2 separate regions of the Homo sapiens genome follow, and region 1 is linked to region 2. The links are contacts of gene promoters, found by promoter capture Hi-C in human tissues and cell types (Jung and others, 2019). All regions are on one chromosome and are shown on one strand. Each heading gives the region's core, a stretch centred on a gene start or on the middle of the fragment in contact. The rest is flanking DNA. Distances are from core to core; before and after follow the strand shown. Region 1 overlaps XRN2 (5'-3' exoribonuclease 2). Region 2 holds the start of FOXA2 (forkhead box A2).

What was found. The method cuts DNA at HindIII sites, captures the fragments that hold promoters and counts their contacts. A contact is called where the count stands out against the background at its distance.
Region 1: a fragment that was not itself captured here is called in contact with the fragment with the promoter of FOXA2 in region 2 in 1 of the 25 tissues and cell types used here (dorsolateral prefrontal cortex).

What each region holds. Positions count from the first base shown.
Region 1 is chr20:21,376,253-21,383,325 of GRCh38, reverse strand. XRN2 (5'-3' exoribonuclease 2) reads right to left here. Exons shown (of 30, transcript NM_012255.5): 28 at 1,269-1,332. Among named protein-coding and RNA genes, the nearest start is that of NKX2-4, 18 kb to the left of the region's middle. The HindIII fragment of the contact is 5,408 bases long and covers 1-5,236 here.
Region 2 is chr20:22,582,893-22,589,646 of GRCh38, reverse strand. It overlaps FOXA2 (forkhead box A2), which reads left to right and starts at 5,075. Exons shown (of 2, transcript NM_021784.5): 1 at 5,075-5,455; 2 at 6,493-6,754. The coding sequence starts at 5,369. It overlaps LNCNEF (lncRNA neighboring enhancer of FOXA2), which reads left to right. Exons shown (of 3, transcript NR_109883.1): 2 at 236-455; 3 at 1,859-2,125. RefSeq lists enhancers at 2,024-2,778, 2,779-3,534, 4,290-5,045, 6,470-6,754. The HindIII fragment of the contact is 10,630 bases long and covers 3,397-6,754 here.

The sequences.
Region 1 (7,073 bases), core at 1,283-3,782, 1.2 Mb after region 2:
AAACCAAGTATATAATTTAGGAAAAATTTACCCCTTACTTACTTAATTTCTGCTTAAAATTTGTGGTACTGAGGAAAATGAAACAGCACATACTGTGTGCTTTCAGAACATATACTAAAATCAAAACATTAATACACACATTGCTAGTCGTATTGCATTTAATGAGACTTGCACTAAGTTGACACTATTAGTAAACATCGAATAACATGATTCCTTTTATCCTCTTGAAGATAACAATGAAATAAAGTTCTGGAGTCTCTAAAGAGTTATAAAGTTTTCTTAAAAGGGAAGCTGCATTTAGAATCCCATTTATAAAAACACTATTCATTTCAGATGTGAACAGATTAGAGACTGTAAACATGGCAGAGGAGAAGAGAATAAAACAGATTAAAACTGGGAAGGCAAAAAAGAAAGCCTTATTATGATGGGGCTTAATTTGTTTTTGCATTTACTGATGTTGGCAAAACCATCATGAAATGATACATCTTAAAGCTGGCCTTTAAAAATTATTCTACAGATGTTAATTATTCATAATGTGCCTAGTTGTCTTGTCGTACAGAGTCCATCGGACTTAGGAGCACACAACTTATCAATGAAGGAATACATGTTAAACATCCCTTGTTATTAAACCATGTCACATTCTTCCTAGTCCATGGTACTTATTAGACTGCAGATCCCATAATCCTCTTCTGAGTCCCTTCTGCGTTTAATTCAGTTCAGTCTTAAGTAGTTAAAGAAACTGTTTTCAGTGGCAACTAATAACTACTGACCTACAGTGACACTGCCCTACAATAGGCTTGTCAGCCCTGAAAAAGTTGTACCAAAGAAGCTGATTAGGACTTCAAGAGGTTTGTAGCAAGAATCAATGGTTGGTCTGTACTAACGCTGCATTGCCCGCACAGAAATGATAAAAGTGGAACACCATTAGTTATGCCTCATTAAGCTGCACAACCCTTCTAAAAAGAAATTTGTTTAGCCTGACCAAAACCTAATACAGTTTTAAGCTGTGTTGCATTTTTCAGGGCATCTCAAAAGCATCAATAAAATAAAGGCCAAGAACCAAGAAAAGTAAGAAAGTATATTAAACATGAGTCTTTTAATTCAAAGTATTAGCTATATATTTTCTTAAAGGATAGGCACAAGGGAAATTGTTTTTGGTGGGAAAAAGTACATTTCAAACCACAGAGGTTTTAGCTTCCATAAAAACCATAAACCCCAAATGTTGGTGTCAGAAAGTATTTAAAAGTCATGTCTACTTTTAATATTACCTGTCAAACCTTTGCTGCTGGAAAAGGGGAGGAGGACCTCGCCAGGAATCCTGGGGCCTCATATCTGAAAAAGAAACAGGAAAGGGTTAAGAAGATTTTTAAAAGTAACCAATATTCAACTACCCAATATTTTATAATTAAAAGTTCTTGAAAAAAATCTGAGAAAGACTGTAAACCAAATAAACTAGTATCATAATAACACACACCACAAATGTAAAAAGGTAAGTAACTAACAAGGTCAGCAAATTTTTTATTATTTTTCCTTTGATAACAAAATAGGTTTAGTAACCCCTGGTCACTAAACTCACATAATCCTGTGTGTGTGTGTGTGTGTGTGTGTGTGTATGTGTGTGTAAGTAAAGATACATACATTACACACAGTTTTTACATTTATATTTTAAATGCTGTGGAAAAGGAAAGGTTTAGTTCTTTTCCATAAATAGAATTAATACAAACTGAATGAATAGTATCTACAACAGAAATCCTGAAATTTTCCTTCTGAAGGCATAAATTGCTTTCATTAACATTAAGCAGAGCACACACAATCTCTCCAACACAAACCAAGAAAACACATTAATGAAGGGACCACCCACTTCTCCATCTTTTCTGATAGTTTTCTTGTAACGCAAAGCTGAACTAGCAACATCATCTAACTAGAAGAAACAATTAAATGGCTCCTGCTCTTCTACATAAACTGACGGATATAGGATGAAAGAAACATCTGGGCCTGTCTATATCAGCGAACCACAGCTTGCAGTCACTTCACCTTCAGCGGGGTCTGCTGTGACCTAATTAAAACTGCTGGTTCCAGAAGTTGTCTAATGAGTTCACCATGTGAGGACAGTAACCTCCTCTAGACTCCCGAGACCAAGGACAACGCTTACCATAATGTATTCAGGCTCACATTTTAATAGAAACACAAACTAGAAAAATGCTTTTCAAAATTACTTAAAGAAAAGAAGAGTTGAAAGCTTATCTCTGGTTAGAAACCAAAAATATATATGGTTTTTACTTAAGAAAGAGAGAGAAAGAAAAAAGTAGAATCATGCTTTAAAAGCCCCATGACAAAGAACACGGAATCAATAAAATATCTAGCTGCTCACAATGATTCTAGCTCATAACTGGCAGCCTCAGCCCTGGCTTCCTTCCCATCTCGACATGCTGAGAAGGCCAGACTGAAGAAAGTTTTCCTTATGTGGACAAACTACCTGAAGGAGGGCAGCCATCTGCAGCTGCCACAGCCCACTCCCACATCAGTCCATGGCCAGCTGGAAAAGTTTCTGCAGCCATACCCATGGGTGCCAAACCCACCTCTCAGAAAGGTGCAGGAAGCCCTTCACCAGCTGTCACTTCCAGGCAGATTCCCATTGTGAATTAAAAGGTGGTATCTTTAGTCAATTGGAATTAAGTTCCTTTTTTATTTCTTAAAAACCAAACTACTAGCAGTCAAACCGAGTAACAATGTGGAGGATGCTGACTACTACACACTCCACAGAAAACAGAGGAAGACAGTTCCCCACCCTACGCCCAGAGTAAGTTCTGAGTCATTACTACAGACTATACACTATCAGAAAATCAATTTTCTGAAGAGATAAAAGTAAGAAGTTCTTACAATAATAGCAATCATTTCATTTGTATGGTTTATTTCTATGGGAAAACTTAAGATACATTTACATATATGAATTTCAATGAGTTACCATTTGTGAGAAAGTAATCTACTGAAAGTAAAATCAATGTTTGAGCCACTTTTTCAGCTCATGTACAAAATTAGTTTAGTGAGAATCAGTTAAAATGTTCCCAGAAGTATTTCATTTTAGTGCCCTTATATATACAAAATTTGCAAATGTAACAGAAGTCAAAAGAAATACAGCAAATATTCATCCGGACCCCTCTACTTCACATCCCCTGGAATCACTGCGGTTACCCTGGAAACATACCCCTTTTTACCATTAGGACTTAATTCCATATTGTGCTTGCCTGGTGTCTTTTTATGTATGGTATAATCGCAGGATACACATTCTCCATGGTACTTACGAAAGCTTCCACAGTGGCTCCCTAATAAATTTAAAATCGAATGAAGACAATACAAAGATACAGCTACATTAAGAGAAACCTTCAGAAACAATCTAATGTTTTAAGAAAAATAAAGATGGGAAAAAAACTTGTATATTTTGTCCTAGAAACTGTGCTAATGGAGATGAAGCCATCACCACCCATAATATATATTCATTAGACTCAAACATGCTATTCTTAGATTAAGCACAGCAGTATTTCTAAGTAGAACTGGAATGTAAAGTTTACTAAGTGTAAATGCTTTTTTTGGAGGAGGAAATAATTGTCTAACCTATACAACTAGTTGTCTAACCTATACAACTAGAAATGTCTTAAAAAACAGCAAACATTTCTAATATATCACTTCTAGTGTGCCAGGTGCCTCTCTATTTTCCATTTTCTATCTCTCACCTCCAGGACAATTTTCTTTTTCCATATAAACTCAGCACATACAAAAATTACAGTTTTTTGTTAAAACCTAAGCAAATTTTCCAAAACTTTCAATAAACTCTGATGCAACTGTTAAAACACTCCTTGTTTTCAATCCAAAAAGAAAAAAGGCTCAAAGAAATATTTCAAGGCTATTTTTAACCAAATTTCTTCATATGGCTCTTAGTAACATATATAACCTGGAAGTATTCATAAAGCAGAAGTATTTCCTGGCTGATCTGTAATGAAGTAGATGGTAAAACAAACTTATTATCATTCATTTGTATGGCTCTAACAGAAGACCCATTTGAGAGGAAGAAAAAAAATTCTGAGACAGTGAATTGCACTTCAGAAGGTACAGGCGAGAGTGGAAAATTTTTTCCTTTGGTCTTTAAAAACTTATCCCTTTTCTAGAGCTCTAAGGCCATGTAAACCAAGCTTCGCCAATAGCTTCTCAAGTGACAATTTACCTAATCAGCGTGGCAATCACAGAAAAGATTCCATGTTTACTGATAGCACTAGTCAAAAATCACTTTTCAACGTGGCTAATTGACAAGTTTACAGACTAAAATGAAGAGAAGTCACATTTAAGGTTCTCTGGGCTACAGAAACCAAATGCTTTATTCAGACTGAGTACTCAGGGCTACACTCGATTCCAACAAGTTATCAGTACTCAGACAATTACTCATCAGCCAAAACTGACACATCAAAGACAAATCAAACACCAACAATAAGAAATACCTACAGCAGACACTTGACAGTTGTCAGTTTGACCAAATGGCCCTTCTTGAGTGCAATTTCATACTACACGAAGAAAATGATTATGATACTAAAAATATTTTAGACTGAATAAATGGCTTAGAACTCAATCTTACTAAAACAAGCTATTTGACTAAATTTTAAAGTTCAAAATTCTATAAAAGGAAAGATGATCTTTTATCACTTAATACTTTCACAGTACTTATTATGTACAACGTACTATTTTAAGTGCTTAGCTACTTAAATTCATTTAGTCTGGTTATTTTGTCAGGTAAATATTCTTATCCTCTGTACTATTTTCGAGATGAGGAAACTGGGGCAATGACCAAACCTGTCAGAGGTCACAGAGTGAGGCCAGGGGCTATGTCCCCGTAACCACTCTCTACTACACTGTGCAATCTCAAAGTTTCACATTCATTTATGCTGTCGGTTGAGATGGCACTTCATGTTAATTTATTTCAGAAGACGCAGAGGAGAACCACCCATGATTTTGTGCTGCTTAATCAGGAGGCTCAGAAACTTACAGTTTCAACAAGACTGGATGGGGGGTTTAACAACTACTCTCAACATCTTAAAGGTTTACAACCGACATTATTACTCATATCCAATTAGGATAGGAAAGAAAAATAACACACATTTTAGTTGTAAGCATCTAGGCAAATACAGGATTTATAGGAAGAAAATAAGAAAACATCTTGGCTAAAACACTGGAATCTCTGCTCTTTTTAAAAGGATAATACTACCCCTCAAAATCTGGCACTTAAAATGTAAAGAGAAGGGATCAGATAAAAATCAGTATCAGCGGTTCCTGAAGCACAAACCAAAACCCAACATCACTTCAAAGAGATCAGCCGGTCTGTCGAGGGACGGAAAGAGCGGAGAGGTGCTCTCGAAGCCGTGACAGCCTGGGTGAAATGAACCAGGTCCCCTTCCTGGTCAAGCCTATCTCCCTAGGGACAAAAAAGTACCTCTCTGCCCTCATAGCCAGAGGAAGCAACAGAGAGATGTGGCGCTTAGATTCACTCTACAATCCCGTCCATCCAAGTCCAAATCATCTTAAGGATGCTTTTCCTTGCCCTCTATCTCTCTTCCTTTTGTGTTTTTCTTCCTCTTATAGCAAGATGTGGATGAATGGATGAAAGATTGATACATAGGTGAAGACTGGTTCTACACAAATATTGAATCTAGAAGTAACAAGATCACAAAATAAATATGTCAGAAGTCTTAATGACAGTAAACTAAAAGAAAAAAAAAAACACAGGCCGGACGTGGTGGCTCACGCCTGTAATCCCAACACTTTGGGAGGCTGAGGCAGGCAGATCACTTGAGGCCAGGAAATTTGAGACCAGCCTGGCCAATATGGCAAAACCCTGACTCTACTAAAAATACAAAAAGTAGCTGGGCATGGTGGTGCATACTTGTAATCCCAGCTACCTGGGAGGCTAAGGCAGGAGAATCACTTGAACCTGGAAGGCAGAGGTATAGCGAGCTGAGATTGCGCCACTGCACTCCAGCCTGGGTGGCAAAGCAAGACTGACCAAAAAAAAAAAAAAGAAAAAACCGACAAATCATATGTTGGACTATGCTTAAAGAATATTAGGAAAATATCAGATTTCCTTTCTTCATTGTCTGCAGCATTTGCCTGAACTTATCATACTTTAATGACCATTCTAGATGAAGCTAATTATTTATCCAATACATTTCTTACAAAAGTATCAGGGAATGATTTGTGAAATGACATGGTTGCCTTCTAGGAAGTCCAAACTCTTAACCCAAGCTTTCCAAGGTTTTTTTTATAACCAAGAGCAATCGAAATCCATCAATCTATTCAACTCTTTTTTGAGCTTTTATGTTTCTAGTTTATATGCAGACAATCCCCAAATTTCTCTCCAACTACATCCTCTCTCTCTTGAGCAAGAACCTGACTCCTATGACTACCTAGCACAGATGCCTCTAAAGTATTTCAGGCACTTTGACCCCCACAAACTCACTCATCACATTCTTTCATATTCCTTCACCCTCCTGGGTTTCCAAACTCTGTGAAAGGCCTCAGTAAGCACCCAGGCATCACAGTGAACGCACAGGACTCTTCATTCCCTTCTCCCTCTCCTCCTCACTCTTCATATTCAATTATCCAGACTTTCAGCCTTCCCTTCCTCCCACCTTCCGGACTTTGGATCCACTCTGCCAGTGTAGTTCAGACCCTCATCATCTCTCCTTAACCCACAGAGTTGTGGTTCTACAATGGAGAGGTATCTGGTTAATTCTTCTAGAGTTTTTAAAACCTTATAAACAAACAGACTAGTGCCCAAATTAAATCAGCAAGGGACAAGAACAGCCAACTTACAAAAGAAAAACTGGTCAGTAAAAATATGACCAAAGCAGAAATTGAAAAATCATATCTTAAAACAAAGACACATTATTCCTTATCAAATTAGCAAGAACTTTATTTATTTTATGTTAAAGAGACAGGGTCTTGCTGTTACCCAGGCTGGAGGGCAGTGGGCTATCATAGCTCACTGCAGCCTCAAACTCCCGGGGCTCAACCAATCCTCTCACCACAGC
Region 2 (6,754 bases), core at 3,826-6,325:
AAGCATCCCTCAAAGAGAAGTTTATTCTCACTCAGGTTGGCATGTTGTTATTGCTACTAAAACTTGTCATTTTTTATTTTTATCTCTTCCAATTATTTTAATTACCTGCTATAATAGTCCCACATACCAGAAATGTGCTAAAAACACAAGAATGGTGAACAGGTTGTCAAATATATACCAGAAATATTTGTCAAACCCTGGCCCAGAATGGGCAGAGCACTGGCTTTCTTCACAGACCTCCACAGATGGGAGTGGAATCCGCAACTGCTCAATCCATCCACTGAGAAGTCCCATAAAAGATGGACAATCCATAACTGAAACCCAACCTTCGGCACAACGATCAAATTCTACATGCATAAAGCAAGAGATCTGTGTGCCAGATCCATCTTAAAGGCACCCCACCCAGAGGACAGAGTCTGTCTCCTTCCCCTAAACAATATGCAGAAACCACCCTGGTAAGTCAATACCTGTGGTTGACATGAATATTTCTTCTCTTCCTCTCTCAACTCAGGGAAAATCACAGTTCATCCCCTGATACCAGTAAGACAAAATAATAATGCCTTGTTTTTCAGAACTCAAACCTGTCGTCAGTTTGTATGGTGGCTTCTCTGATCTCCTTTCAAGGATGAGAACTGAATGAATATTTGCACAAGTTATTTTGCCAAAGTTTCCTTAACATCAGATCCAATATCCTTATTACATATTTCACCATAAAATAGTAAAAGAGAATGTAATAATAAAGTAGTGATATAAAATGATACCACCCATACTTCTAAAAACATAGATTGAAGATATAATTCTACCACCCAAACATAATCAAGGTTACTAACATCGTATTTATTTAATTCATTTTATTTTCTCATTTTAAAAATGTATGTTTCATCTTTTCCTGTGGATCTTGCGGTGGAGAGATAAATTGCATGCAGGTGCACACAGTATTAAACTTAAAATGTTGCACCTTGCCTCCCCCTTTATCAGCATTTTCCTGAGCCTTTGCTGAAGGCTGCAACATGCTGAATTTTTTTATTCTTTTACATAAATACCCTCTGATAAGGTGTTCTTAGCTAATGACCTTTTCAATTGCCCTCTCCGTAAACAACTGGTCTTTTGACCATCCAAGAACTTTGAAAGCCAACATAAGTGTTTGAAGGTGTGCTCAGTGCCAAGTAGACAAATTTTGATGGTCTAATTTTTTTTTTTTTTTTTTTTTTGAGATTGAGTTTTGCTCTTGTTGCCCAGGCTGGAGTGCAATGGTGCGATCTCAGCTTACTGCAACCTCTGCCTCCCGGGTTCAAGCGATTCTCCTGCCTCAGCCCCCGAAGTAGCTGGGATTATAGGCATGGGCCACCACATCCTGTTAATTTCGTATTTTTAATAAAGATGGGTTTTCACCATGTTTGTCAGGCTGGTCTTGAACTCCTGACCTAAGGTGATCCGCCCGCCCCGGCCTCCCAAAGTGCTGGGATTACAGGCATGAGCCATTGCGCCTGGCTGATTTTTCAGTACATTTCAGAAATAATAACCCACCCAAAGAAAGTGAAATGTTGATTATAATCTTTGACACACGATATGCCTTTTCTTCATTGAGACTTGAGATTCATCCAGAGAATGAATAAGGGGTGTTTGGACATCTGCTTTTTTACCAATTAAAAAGTTTATAAGAAAGTAAAAATGCATACTTTCCCAAGACTGTGCTGTCACTTTTCCATCCCCTCTGCCTTCATCTTGCCTACATATCTGCCTTATGTTGCCCTAAACACGCTGGGGAACTTTGAGCAAGGCCTTGCCTGGGTATTTATTCTCTGAAAGGTTTTAGGAATTGGAGTATTAATGGGACTTTTATTGTTTTTCTCCTTAGGTATTTCATGGGTTCTCACTTAGGAAAATTGAGTTCTGTTCAATGATGCCCCTTCTGCACTGGTTGGTTTCATGTGACAAAGAGAGCTCTAGGGAGGACTTTTGCTAGGGGAACGCAGATTGTTCCAGCAAGATGAAGGCCTAGGAGACCTGGATGGCCTGGGTGTTTTCTTCCCAGGGAGAGCAGAGGAGGCCTGGATTTGAACTCGAGTCTTATGACTTTGCCATTGAGGCAACATCCAAAATAAAAATAGCATGCTAACCCCAAGCACAGTCCTCAGTTATAAAGCAGCTTTATTATAGAAGCCGGCGGTGACCTAACAAAATGGAAAGGGAAGGGCTCTGTAGGTCTCGGCCCTACATGAGGGTAGACTAAAGAGGGATTGGGAGAAACATCTGCAGCCCGAGGTCCCCGCGAACTTTTTCCTGGAGAGAAACTCCGGGAGCAATCTTCAGCATTCAAGCCTGAGCCAGAACTCTGGATAGCCCTTTAGAAATCAGAACTCCGGGAAGGAGGAGCTCCAAAGACCGCTGAGCTGGAAGGGAACGCGAACCCCAGGCTGTCTGAACGTCCCTGCTTCCTTCGCAGCCCGTTGGTGTCCCGCTCCCAGCTACCTAAAGCTAACCGTAGACCCCGCTCGCATTCCCATGGGCAGGCGTGCCGGGAGGGTGCGGGAGCGGCTGCTCCGAGACTCTAGGAGGCGTCATCCAGCCCTACCCTACCGGAGCTCCCAGAACCTCGCCAGGGTGCAGGAGGCCGTTTTGGGTTCGCGCAGAACCTAGGGGTTGGGGCTCCAAAAAGGCCGAGTCCCCCCGAAGGCGTTTTCGGAGAGACTGGGAGAGCGGGGGAGAAGGTGCTCCGGTGCCGGAGCTGCGGGGTTGGGATCGCGGGGGTAAATGAGGACTCGGGTCGGTCCCGCGGGCCTGGCGGCCGACAGGGGGCGCCCTGTCACTGTGGAAGCCCCCGCCGAGCGCTCTCTGGTGTCCCTGACCCCGGCCACCAATAGTGCTGTGGTGGAGGTGGGGGCTTCCAAAGTCCGCTCCTTGGAAGTGTAGCGCCCCCTTCTCCTGCGGCCCTCCAGCTCGCTCCTTCTGTTCCTGGAATAATTTCTGGGACCAAATTTCCACCCAGGAGCAAAATAGAAAGGGAAGTGGGCACCCACATAAGCTCACAAATACTCTCATACAGCACACGCACAGACTAGGTCAACCATAACATTCTTTTGAGTTTTGGGGGTGCGGTGTGTGTGTGTGTGCGTGTGTGTCTGCCCAGGCCTGCGGAGAAAGCTTTGAAAAATTGCTCATTCTTTGAGCTCCAATGCTTACTCCTCTTTCCCTGCCCTCGGTGGAGTGATGAAGTTGCTCCCATCCACGCGCTAGGTGGGACCCCGTGGGAAATGCTGGGGATCTAGCCCCTCTGACTCCGCTGCGCACACCTCCACGTTCACTACGTAGCCGTACACACCATCAAGCTCCTTCCCTGGCGCACCGGGCTGGCCTGCCCCTCGTGGGAGCCTTCAGCACTCGGGGGACCGATAGGCACGGCTTCCGCGGAGATACAGACCTTGAATTTGTGGGAGAATCCCGCCCTGGCGCTCACTCGGCGGGCTTATTAATGCCCTCTTTATGAAGTGTCCAAACCATCTGCATTTCAGCAGCAAAAGATGCTGCCGGCGGCTTCCTTCTGTGTCCCAAACCGTGCAGACCTGAGAGTCCTGGGGTTAGGGAAGTGGTTCCCCTGTGCCTACTGCTACCTCCTCGCTTGCCTTCCAGCCTCACCCTTACTCAAGCTTCAATGCGAAGCTCCGTGTCTGCCATCTCGCCTGTCTTCTGCCACCATCGCCCCCAATTTTGGACAGGTGGGCTGGATGCCCACTAGTTCCTATGCATTCTCTGTGTCTGAGGGGGTGGGTACAGGGCTGGATCCCCAAGGTCCAGCCAGGTTTTCAGAACCAAGAAAGAGCCTCCACATCCAAACACCTGCAATATCCCCCCACTCCAAATCTGGGCTCACAGGCTAACCCAGAACAGAAGACAATTTTTGAACCCAAGAGCTGCTGGGGAAATAAAAGTATACGATTGCTGGAGTTTCTAATTTCTATTAAGCAGTCCCTCTGGAAGACAGAGAGGACAGAGACGCTCTTGAAGTCAACTCCATATGCCCCATCATTGATTCCTGGATTCTTCTCTCCTCACCCCTCCCTCCCCACCTCCTGCCCTGTTTGTTTTAGTTACGAAATGCTGTGGGCACCTCGGTTGTGACTGAAAAGTAACCTTGAAACACGCCGGCCTGAATATCAGAGACAAATCTCAGCCTCCCAACCGTCGGCCGCTGCTAGAGGGGCTGCTTGCGCCAGGCGCCGGCCGCCCCACTGCGGGTCCCTGGCGGCCGGTGTCTGAGGAGTCGGAGAGCCGAGGCGGCCAGACCGTGCGCCCCGCGCTTCTCCCGAGGCCGTTCCGGGTCTGAACTGTAACAGGGAGGGGCCTCGCAGGAGCAGCAGCGGGCGAGTTAAAGGTGTGTACGTAGTTTTTCTAAATAGGACAGCGCTTTGCAAATTGGCTGTCATGGACTTGCTGTTTTGACAGAGAATGAGCACTGAGAGCGAAGAAACCCGGCATAAATAAATCCGGCTTTCATAGGGATCTGCCGGGCACTGAGGCTGGACGCGCCCTCCGACAGGCGCACCGGGCGCCCGGCGCGATGAGACGGGGCGGGGGCTGGAGGCCGGAGCCGCCCCAGAGGGTGGTTTCCTCCCAGGTCCCTCCTTCCTCAGGGGACTCGCTGTGGACCCGGGAGGAAAGGGGGCTCGACCAGGGATCCCGCGTGCCCGATCGCCCGCCCAGCCCGCTCCCCTGGCCCGCCCAGGAGTGCGGGGCGCCGCGGCGGTGGGGCGGACGGCAGGCGCTGAGGGGCAGGTGCGGAGCGCCGGCTGCGGCTACCTCTCACCTAGGTGTGAGCTGATTATTCAAATGGGCTGCCCCGGGTCTGGGGATTGGAGGCCCGCGCCAGCGCGCCGCGCTATATCACCAGCCTCCCACGTCACTGCGGCACTTGTCCGCTCCGCGGTCCACACCTCCTCCTCCTCCTCCTCCTCCTCCTCCTCCTCCTCCTCCTCCACCACCACCACCGCCTCCTCCTCCTCCTTCCTCCTCCTCCTCCCCACCCCCCCACTAGCCCCCGCGCCGCGCGCTTCCCGCCGCCTCGGGGCAGCTCGGCACTGCCAACCTCAGCCGCCACCCGGCAGCCCGTGAGCGCGGCGGCGGCGGGTGCTCCCTACCGCGGGGCGCTGGCCTGGGCCTCCTCCGCTCCTCGCCCCCCCCCACCTCCCGCCCACTTCCAACTACCGCCTCCGGCCTGCCCAGGGAGAGAGAGGGAGTGGAGCCCAGGGAGAGGGAGCGCGAGAGAGGGAGGGAGGAGGGGACGGTGCTTTGGCTGACTTTTTTTTAAAAGAGGGTGGGGGTGGGGGGTGATTGCTGGTCGTTTGTTGTGGCTGTTAAATTTTAAACTGCCATGCACTCGGCTTCCAGTATGCTGGGAGCGGTGAAGATGGAAGGGCACGAGCCGTCCGACTGGAGCAGCTACTATGCAGAGCCCGAGGTAAGCGCTCGTCTTTTCCAGGGGGAAGTGGAGCGGCGGCGCTCGCTCCTTCCCCAACCTCAGGACCGCTTCCCTCGCTGGCACCCCCCCACCCCGCCCCACAACCCCAGCCTTTCTGGGCAGCCGCCTTTTCCGCCCTCCTTGGAATCAAATGGGTCTCTTTTTTATACGACACACTGTTAGCCTTGAGATAATATTAACTTTGTGATCAAATATTGACTTGCGGCGCCTCCAAATCCTCTTCGTGGCCGAGCCACGCACTATCCTAACAGAGTTATGTTTGGCAGCGCGCGGCTGGGGAGGGGTGGGAGGTCGGCCGGCGAGGGGGTGGGGAGCTGAGGAGGAGAAGATGGGTAGGAGTTGGGGGCTGAAGTGGAGGCAGAGTCAAAGACTAGTGGACAAAGAGAAAGAAAGTTTTTGCCTGCAAAGCTCAGCCGCGTGTGGTTCAGGTCTCGGTTCTTTCCCTATTGCCCCGTTCAGTGCCTCCAGCCGCCCCCGCACTCCGCACAGGCACTGCCTTGCAGTTTCCCTGGGACAAGGGAGGGGGTCCCTGGAGGGAGACCGGACAGAGGGGGCCCGGGACAGTCTTCGCTGGAGGCAGCCCGAGGCGCCCCGCGCGTTGTCCCGCAGGTTGCTTGCTGCGACCGGAGGTGGCGTCCGGGGACTTCGGGCCTCGGCGCCAGCTCAGTATGCTGGTGGGAGAGTTTGGGGAGACTCTGGGGTAGGGGAATGTATTTGGGGTGCTGGCTTGGGAGTACTCCATGGGACCCCTGTTCTAGAATCTGGGCGAGGTGGAGAAGGGCTAGGAACGGGCCACATGCCCAAGCAGCAATCCGCTCGCCACCTTCCCAAGGGCGATCGATCATGACTCTCCCTGAATGAAACAGACTCGGAGTCCGGAGACTGGGCCATCGGGGACGAAAGGGCTCCCCGGAGGCCTCCCCGGACGCGGAGGCCTGGGCGGTGGGTGGGAGGTCTGGGCACCCTCCAGCCGCGGTGCTAACGCTGTCGCCTCCCTCCCGGGGCTCTGTCCGCAGGGCTACTCCTCCGTGAGCAACATGAACGCCGGCCTGGGGATGAACGGCATGAACACGTACATGAGCATGTCGGCGGCCGCCATGGGCAGCGGCTCGGGCAACATGAGCGCGGGCTCCATGAACATGTCGTCGTACGTGGGCGCTGGCATGAGCCCGTCCCTGGCGGGGATGTCCCCCGGCGCGGGCGCCATGGCGGGCATGGGCGGCTCGGCCGGGGCGGCCGGCGTGGCGGGCATGGGGCCGCACTTGAGTCCCAGCCTGA